3 separate regions of the Homo sapiens genome follow, and regions 2 and 3 are each linked to region 1. Evidence: promoter capture Hi-C in 16 types of primary human blood cells and fetal thymus (Javierre and others, 2016). All regions are on one chromosome and are shown on one strand. Each heading gives the region's core, a stretch centred on a gene start or on the middle of the fragment in contact. The rest is flanking DNA. Distances are from core to core; before and after follow the strand shown. Region 1 holds the start of GBP4 (guanylate binding protein 4). Region 2 has its middle 27 kb from the start of GBP5. Region 3 has its middle 44 kb from the start of GBP6.

Evidence for each region. Contacts are between HindIII fragments. The CHiCAGO score rates a contact against its expected background, and 5 or more counts as called.
Region 2: a fragment that was not itself captured here is called in contact with the fragment with the promoter of GBP4 in region 1 in 2 of 17 cell types (activated CD4 T cells and non-activated CD4 T cells); the score reaches 7.0 in activated CD4 T cells.
Region 3: a contact is called between a fragment that was not itself captured here and the fragment with the promoter of GBP4 in region 1, in 2 of 17 cell types (activated CD4 T cells and non-activated CD4 T cells). The highest score is 8.0, in activated CD4 T cells.

Annotation. Positions count from the first base shown.
Region 1 is chr1:89,197,564-89,200,854 of GRCh38, forward strand. It overlaps GBP4 (guanylate binding protein 4), which reads right to left and starts at 1,379. Exons shown (of 11, transcript NM_052941.5): 1 at 1,232-1,379. The coding sequence starts at 1,271. LOC107985076 (a long non-coding RNA gene) reads left to right here and starts at 784. Exons shown (of 3, transcript XR_002958332.2): 1 at 784-845; 2 at 940-1,495. RefSeq lists a silencer at 1,183-1,477. The HindIII fragment of the contact is 3,654 bases long and covers 1,213-3,291 here.
Region 2 is chr1:89,298,620-89,301,653 of GRCh38, forward strand. It overlaps the pseudogene LOC100421401. Among named protein-coding and RNA genes, the nearest start is that of GBP5, 27 kb to the left of the region's middle. The HindIII fragment of the contact is 3,568 bases long and covers 1-3,034 here.
Region 3 is chr1:89,318,061-89,321,385 of GRCh38, forward strand. No RefSeq gene overlaps it. Among named protein-coding and RNA genes, the nearest start is that of GBP6, 44 kb to the right of the region's middle. The HindIII fragment of the contact is 2,856 bases long and covers 447-3,302 here.

The DNA of each region.
Region 1 (3,291 bases), core at 129-2,628:
ATTCTTACAAGAACGCTAAAAATGCCTTGTCAAGGTGATGCATAAAATAAACAGAATTAGAAAATCAAGGCACTGATGGCAGAATAATTCCACTCCTGGAATAAATAGGGGCAGGATGTTACAAAAAGGAGATGAGGAGTGGTTAGAAAAGGCTCCAGGCATTCCAGAAGAATTTGCTCTCTCATTAATTTAATAAAGAGTATTGCGTACCTACCATGTGCTAATTAACACCGTTCTAGATTCTCAGCAACAAGCAAGGAACATAATTGATACAAACTTCTGCCTCTTGGAGCTCTATTTGTTGTAACCCAGCGAGTTACAGAGAAACGCCACACTCTGAGACGAATTCAGGAGTCCTTTATTAGCCGGCGACCGAGAGACGGCTAGTGCTCAAAATTCTCTCGGCCCGAAGAAGGGGCTAGATTTTCTTCTATACTTTGGTTTAGAAAGGAGAGGTTGGGGGGAGGGGTCTAGTTAAAACAATCCTACAGAAGTAAAGTAGGCAAAAAGTTAAAAGGATAAATGGTTACAGGAAAGTAAACAGTACTAGGTGCAGGGGCTTTAATTCTATCACAAGGTGATAGAAGCGGGGCTTTGGGCTTTATCAACCAGACACAAACGCGGGGGGCTCTGGGTGCTGTTAACCGGGCGAATTCCTGGGAACTGCGGGTATGGCTTGCCACAGTACCTTATCAGTTAATTGCATTCTTGGATGTGCTGGGAGTCAGCTTGCACAAGTTAAGTCCCTGAGGAAGCGGGTGGGTAAGGGGCTGCAAGTGAAGGAGCCGAGATGCAGACTGTCTGGCTCTTTCAGCTAAGGGAGAGTCAACTCAGGTTAAAACAAGGTAGGGTATCACATATTCTAGTGGGGGACAGAAAATTAATAAAACAAACAAGCAAAAAATGTGTATATGTATACTAGATGATGGTATTTCGCAGGAGAAAATGCCACAGCTCTGGGAGGAAGCCCGAGGAGGAGCAGCGCATCCTGGAGACACCGGTGCGCCTCTGGTCGCCGCCTGTGGACCGTCTAGAGACGCTGGGCCACACGGAGCAAAGCACTCAGGGGTTCAAGCAGCATCAGACTTCCCCGCGAGGTTCCTCCACTGCCTTTGTCACCCGCCAGTGTGAAGTCTCCAACCCTCCCCGTGTGCAGTCTGCGCTTGGGAATTTGTTGTTGTTTGTTATAACCCAAATATACTTGAAAGGTAAAGCTTAAGAGCAAACTTACCTGGTGTGGGCACTGCAGCGTGAAGAGTTCTCTCACCCATTGCTCTGTCCTCCTGCGCCTGGATCCTCGAGAAACGGACTGTTCTTAGAAGCTGAAAGTCCAGCCGGATTTACAGACATCCAAGTAAGAGTCTGTGAGAACCGAAATTGAAAGGACATGCACTTTGTGGGGAGTTGACTGTTGGGGATTTTCCTGTTTATCAAGACAGGAAACTAAAGGAGCTTGAAAGTGCTGGTTCCTCCACACCAGACTCCTGAAACTCAGGTTTGTTTGTCCCTCTTCCACCCTTAGCTTAGGTATCTTTCGCCTCCAAAATGAATATAGAGCAGCAGACATGAATGTTGTTTCATCTACCTGTCTCTCAGGGGTAATTTTGTCAGGGAAGAAATTTGAGTTTTTGTTTGCTTTTATTTTTTTTTACATGCTTATATGTTTCTGTTTCTCATCTCTTTTCTTTATTTTTTCATTAACCATAAAATATGTGTGTGTTTGTGTGTGTGTCTATGGATATCTATGTATCCTCTAACGTTGTTGCCCAGAGGTGCGGTGGTGGCAAGTAAATACTTCTCTTTCAAAACACAAACATCTCATTGAAACTGGATCTTTTGGAGGACAGGAGGATGATTGGACCATAAAAAGCATAATTTATAATTAGGAGTCTTACCCAGGCTACCAGAAAAATGGACTCAGTTCCTAAAATGACTAGCCAGTTTGTTAACAGAGTTTGGGAAATCTATCTGAAATAAATGGGTAATGATTCCCCATTTGTGCCTATCCCTTAGATCTTCCTATTTGTTTAGTAATGTCTGATTAAACATTTGCAAATTAATAAGTACAAAATTTTAGGCACTTAATCAGGTAAAATTACTGGTGCCGATTTTGATTCAAAACTTAACATTTATTTCCTATAAGCAATATTGAAAGTGAAAATAAAGCTAAGTCAAGTTTTAAATAGGACCAGTAATAAGAAATCAGGTGCTTTTTTCTCTTACCATTTTTTAATGTCAGGAAGTCCCTCTCTCTTAAAAAAAAAAAAAAAGAAGAAGAAGAAAAAGTACAGGGATGACTGAATCCAGGTAAATGTGTTTGAAACACCTGAATTTCACCAGTGGCACCCCTTTCCAGATAATCCAATGTTACTGACTTCAGATAATCATGGAAATGTTAATCAAGAAGAAATTTAGGCTGGGTGTGGTGGCTCACTCCTGCAATCCAACCATTTTGGGAGGCCAAGGTGGGCAGATCACTTGAGTCCAGGAATTGGAAACCAGCCTGGGCAATATGGGGAAACCCCATCTCTACAAATAATAATAATAATAAATTAGCTGGGCATAATGGCATGTGCCTGTTATAATAGTCCTAGTTACCTGGGAGTCTGAGGTGGGAGGATGACCTGAGCCCAGGAGGTCAAGGCTGCAATGAGCCATGGTGGTCCCACTGCACTCCAACCTGGGCAACAGAGTGAGATACTGTCTCAAAAAAAATTGTTAATTCACAGTTGTATGTATAATGATTGCACATAGCAATATGTCTATGCACATAGAAAATATACATAGCAATATGTCTGTGTTACACAGATAAAAGTCTATAAGTGTTCCCCCAACCACTACCTCCTTAAAATTAGTACTTCTAGCTCAGGTGATTTTTTTAAAATGTCTTTCTGAATTATATGAATTTTTAAAGACTTTTTTTATAATCACAGATATGCACACACATACTCATAAAAAGGAAATAACTTTTATTTTGATAAAAAGACTCTGAACATTTTTTGAATATTTTTCCATATCAGATTTTGAGCTTCTTATTTATACATTTTTTGAATATTTAAAGTGCAATGTCTATATGTTTTTGTATTTTGTGGTTAACTTGTAATTCATTTACAAGATGTATCAAATAAAACAGTTTTTTGAAATGAGGGTGTTTTACTGGCTCACTGATTTTGGAAGGAAACTGGAGGAAATGAGTTGCAGATGTTTTTAATCTCACTGAGCAAGGCAAGGAGACAGAAAGTTATGACGTTAGTAGATCATACAGGGCAAGTGATAATGTTATCTGTGTGT
Region 2 (3,034 bases), core at 513-3,012, 100 kb after region 1:
GGCATCTGCAGGACTTGTCTGTGAGAACATCACTCTGTAGGGCCAGTGTGTTCTCACTCTGAGTCAGAGGTGTTTCTGCATTTTCCAAATAATGAAACCATTCCACTGTTGATGATATTCACATAAGTCACTACCAGAATCCCCAGCCCTGAAAGAGGCAGGAAATTTGGGACATCAATGGGATTCAAATATTGGGACTACAGTTCTAAAATCACAAGCAAACTCTACACAGTGTGAATACCGTCATAAGTCCTATCTTTTCTTACTAAATTCACCTTTATCTTCCTATTCACTCTTGTGTGTTTCTCAGGTCACTGTATTTAAACAATTAATTATTTTTTTCTTTAGTTAATATGCTTGAGATATCCTGGAAAAACAATTTCCTGGTGAAGCATATTACAAACAAACTAGACTAGAGAGGTGAATACGTAGGCAGGGTAAATTAGATTATTTGTCCTGTTAAAATTCCACTTATGAATTATTCGAAATTTAGTTTGAATTAAGATATATCCATATCCATATTTCACATTCTTAGTGAAGAGGGCACTTATCATATCCAACATCTCTTCTTGGAAATTATGGTAGCCTTCATGTTATGTTTACATAATCTTGCTATAAAAATAGAGATATAGAGAACCATTTAAATATATTGAGAGTCAAGTATTTGCTTGTAGACCCATGGAATAATTGTACTGTTAACACTCAACTGTATGAAATGAAACTTTTATTTTGAATGTAAATGGAGAGCTCCATATGTATAGAACACATATGACCGGGCACAGTGGCTCACACCTGTAATCCCAGCACTTTAGGAGGCCGAGGCGAGTGGATTGCCTGAGCCCAGGAGTTCGAGACCAGCGTGGGCAACATGGCAAAACAAAGTCTCTACTAAAAATATAAAAATTAGCCAGGCTTGGTGGCGCATGCCTGTAATCCCAGCTACTCAGTAGGCTGAGGCAGGAGAATCACTTGAATCCGGGAGACAGAGGCTGCAGTGAGCTGACAATAGAGTGGAAAAAAAAAAAAGAAAGGAAGAAAACCACATATATGGCAGAATATCACCACGGGTGAATTTTAATTTATTAATTTATTTTATTTCACTTTTAGTTGTATGACTTGTCTTAGTCTATTCTGACTGCTCCAACAAAATACCTTAGAGTGGATAAATTATAAACAATGAGTGTACTTGCTCCACAGCACTGCAGGTGACTGTGCTCAGTACTAACTAGTTCTCCGTAGCTGCCAACTCACCCTTGCTCTGTTTCCTCCCTCTAAGGTTTTGCTTCTAATTTATAAACACTGAAAACAAACTAAGAATGTTAATCATTCCCAGAAAGGAAATGGAGTGAAAACTGAAGCTGAAAGTAAAATTAGCTCGTGGGGTTTTTAAATATTTAGAAAAGGCATGCTGAGTTAATATCTAGAACATGACAAAGTATAGATGCAATGAAGGTTACAAAATTCCAGTAACTATTTACATTAGCAAAGACTTGGAACCAACCTAAATGCCCATCAATGATAGACTGGATAAAGAAAATGTGGCATATATACACCATGGAATACTATGCAGCCATAGAAAGAATGAGATCATGTCCTTTGCAGGGATGTGGATGAAGCTGGAGACCATCATTCTCAGCAAACTAAAACAGGAACAGAAAACCAAACATCACATGTTCTCACTCATAAGTGGGAGTTGAACAGTGAGAATACACGGACACAGGGAGGGGAAAAACACACACTGGCACCTGGCACCTATCAGGGGGTGGGGGACAAGAGGAGGGAGAGCATTAGGACAAATACCTAATGCATGCAGGGCTTAAAACCTACATGACAGGTTGATAGGTGCAGCAAACCACCATGGCACATGTATACCTATGTAACAAACTTGCATATTCTGCACATGTATCCTGGAACTTAAAGTAAAAATATATACATACAAGTATATAGAAAATTCCAGTAACTGCAGTTACAACTTAGTACATGTTGCCTGACTAGCTTTCTTGTTATTACCCCATCTTGCCATTAGCAGATGAGTACGGTGTATTTTAGTGGGAATTTTGCTGTGTTTATATTTTTAGACTTCATATAGATTCCTGAAGGTGTAGATTAATGTTTTTAATCAAATTCTGGGAGTTATGGTCATTTAATTATTTTTATGTGTTATTGAACTTCTCAATGCCAGAGTTTCTGTTTTTTATAACTTCTATCTCCTTATTGAAATTATTATATCATGAGTCAATGTCATCATATTTTGCTTTGATTCTTTGAACAATGTATTAACGTTAATTACTTGGTATCTTTGTTCTTTAGTTTCTTTGATGTCTTGCCTAGACTAAGTCTCTACAGTCTGAGGTCCTCCTATGTGCAGCAGCTGGTGGCTCTGTTCAGTTATACTTTTTTTGAGATTTTTAAGATTTTATTTATAGTAGACACACAATAATTGCAGATGTTTTGAAGATACAGTGTGATGTTTCAATGCATGTATGCATTATATAATGATAAAATCAGGGTAGTTATGTCAATCACCTCAAACCTTTATCATTTCTTTGTGATGATAACTTTCAAAGATCCTTTATTCTAGCTATCTTGAAATATACAACACATTGTTATTAGCTACAGTCACCCTACTGTGTAATCGAACATGTAAGTTATTCTTCCTAACTGTAACTTTATACCCATTGACCAACTTCTTGCCATCCTCCGCACCTCTCCCCACTTTCCCATGCTCTGGTAACCACTACTCTCTACTTTTATGAGATCAACTCTCTTAGATTCCACATATGAGTGAAATCATGCAGTATTTGCCTCTCTGGGCCTGGCTTATTTCACTCAACACAACATCCGCCAGTTTGATCCATGTTGCCACAAATAAAGGATTTCATTCTTTTTTTAAGGCTGACTAGTGTTCCATTGTGTATATGTACCACATTTTCTTTATCCATTTATCCATCCATAGACACTTAGGTTAATTCTGTATCTTCGTTATTGTGAATAGTGCTGCATTAAACATTAAAGAGCAGATATCTCTACAATA
Region 3 (3,325 bases), core at 625-3,124, 120 kb after region 1:
AGAATGGGAAGGAATGAACAAAGCCTCCAAGTAATATGGGACTATGTCAAAAGACCAAGCCTACAATTGATTGGGGTCCCTGAAAGTGATGGGGAGAATGCAACGAAGTTCAAAAACATACTTCAGGATATTATCCAGGAGAACTTCCCCAACCTAGCAAGACAAGTCAACATTCAAATTCAGGAAATACAGAGAACTTCACTAAGATACTCCTTGAGAAGAGTAACCCCAAGACACATAATCATCAGATTCTCCAAGGTTGAAATGAAGGAAAAATGTTGAGGGCTGCTAGAGAGAAAGGTCAGGTTACCTACAAAAGGAAGCTCATCAGACTAATAGCAGATCTCTCTGCAGAAACCCTACAAGCCCGAAGACAGTGGGGGTCAATATTCAACATTCTTAAATAGAAGAATTTTCAACCCAGAATTTCATATCCAGCCAAACTAAGCTTCATAAGCAAAGGAGAAATAAAATTCTTTACAGACAAGCAAATGCTGAGGGATTTTGTCACCACCAGGCCTGCCTTACAAGAGCTCCTGAAGGAAGCACTAAATATGGAAAGGAAAAACTGATACCAGCCACACCAAAAACAGACCAAAATATAAAGACCAATGACACTAGGAAGAAACTGCATCAACAAATGTGCAAAATAACTAGCTAGCATCATGATGACAGGATCAAATTCACACATAACAATGTTAACCTTAAATGTAAATGGGCCAAATGACCCAATTAAAAGACACAGACTGACAAATTGAATAAAAAGTCAAGATCCATTGGTGTGCTGTATTCAGAAGACCCATCTCATGTGCAGTCACACATAGGCTCAAAATAAAGGAATGAAGGAATATTTACCAAGCAAATGGAAATAAAAGAAAAAAAAAGCAGGGGTTGCAATGACAGTCATGATGAATGATCTTTCAAATTTGATGTTGAATTTGCTTTGCTGGTATTTTGTTGAGGATATTTGTATCAATATTAACCAGAGATATTAGCCTGTTGTTTTCTTTTTTTGATGTTTCTTTGCTTTTGGCATCAGGGTAATACCGGCCTTGTAGAATAAGTTTCATAGTATTCCCTCTCCTTCTTTTTTGGGGGAATAGTTTGAGTTGGATTGGTATTCTTTTTTAAATGTCTGGTAGAGTTCAGCATTGAGACCATTGGGTCCTGGGCTTTTCTTTGCTGGGAGACTTTTTATTATGGCTTTGATGTCATTACTTTTTATTGCTCTATTTAGGCTTCAGATTTCTTAATGGTTCAATCTTGGTAGGTTGTGTATGTCTAGGAATTTATCCACTTCTTTTAGGTTTTCCAATTTGTGGACATACAGTTGTTCATAGTAGTCCAGTGATTCTTTACATTTCTGCAGTATAAGTTGTAATGTCTCCTTTTTCATCTCTGATTTTATTTATTTGGGTCTTCTGTCTTTATCAGTTAGTCTGGCTAAAAGTTTGCCAATTTTCATTATCTTTTCAAAAAACCAACTTTTCTTTTTGATGACATTTAGTATTGCTTTTCTCATTTCAATTTCTTTTTTTTTCCTGCTCAGATCATTATTATGTCTTTTCTTCTACTAATGTTAGGTTTGGTTTGCTCTTGCTTTTCTAGTTCCTTAAGATGCATCATTAGATTATTTGAAGTATTGCTCCCTCTTTGTTGTAGGTGCTTATTGCTATAAACTTTCCTCTTAGTACCACTTTTGCTTATCCCATAAGTTTTGGTATGTTTTCTTTCCATTTGCATTTGTTTCAGGAATTCTTAAATTTGATTCTTGTTTTTTGACCCACTGGTCATTCAGGAGCAAATTGATTAATTTCCAAATGTTTGTGTTCCTTTTAAGTTTTCTCATATGCTTGATTTCTAGTTTTATTCCATTGTGGTCAGAGAAGATACTTGATATGTGTCAAGTATCATATTTACCTTTTTTGTATTTTTCAGACTGATTTTGTGGCTTAAAGTATAGTCTATACTTGAGGATGATCTATTTCCTGAGCAGAAGAACGTGTATTTTTCAACCCTTGGATGAAATAATCTGTAAATATCTATTAGGTCTTTTGGTCTATAGTATAGATTAGGTCTGATATTTTCTTTGTAATTTTTGTTTGGCTGATCTGTCCAATGCTGAAGGTGAGGTGTTGAAATCTCCAGCTGTTATTATACTGTGGTCTGTCTCTCTCTTTTGAACTAATAATATTTGCTTTATATATCTAGATGCTCCAGTATTGGGTGCATATATATTTACAATGGTTATATCCTCTTGCTATATTAATCCCTTTTACTCGTTACATAGTGACATTCTTTGTCTTTTTTATAGTTTTTATCTTGAAATGCTTTTATCTGATATAAGTATAGCTACTCCTGCTCTTTTTTTGGTTTCCATTGGCATGGAATGTCTTTTTCCTTCTTCTTATTTTCAGTTTGTGTGTGTCTTTATAGGTGAAGTGTGTTTCTTGTAGGCAACAGATCACTGGATTCTGTTTTTTTAATCCATTCGGCCTCTCTGTGTCTTTTGATTGGAGAGTATAGTCCATTTGCATTCAATGTTATTGTTGCTAAATAACAACTTACTCCTGCCATTTGGTTTTGTTTTCTGGTTGTTTGTGGTCTTCTCTTTCTTCTCTTCTTCCTTCATGTCTTTCTTTTTGTGAAAGTGATTTTCTTGTTGGTATGTTTTAAGTTCTTGCTCTATACATTTTTTGTGTATCTGTTGTAGGTTTTTTGATTTGTGGTTACCACAAGGCTTGCAACTAATATCTTGTAACTCATTATTTTACACTGATGACAGTTAAACTCTAATTGCTAAAATCTACAAAAAAAAACTGACAAGCAAAGAGAAAACTAATAACATTCAACACTTTAACTTCATCCTCTCTGCTTTTCAACTATTCGTTGTTTCTATTTATATCTTATTATACTATGTCTTAAAAAGTTGTTGTGGTTATTATTTTCGATAAATTTGTCTTTTACTCTTCCTATGCAAGGTATGAGTAGTTTACATACCACAATTACAGTGTCATATTATTTTATATTTGTCGGTATACTCACTGTTACCAGTGAATTTTATGTACTCAGATGATTTTTTTTTTGCTCATTAACATGCTTTCCTTTCAGATTGAAGTACTCTCTTTAGCATTTCTTTTAGGACAGGTCTTATGTTGATGAACTACCTCAGCTTTTGTTTGCTGGAAAAGTCTTTACTTTTCCTCTATGTTTGAAGGATATTTTCACTGGTATGATATTCTAGGATAAAAGATTTTTTTTTAGCAGTTTAAATATATTATACCACTTACTCCTGGCTAGTAAGCTTTCCACTGAGTAATATGTG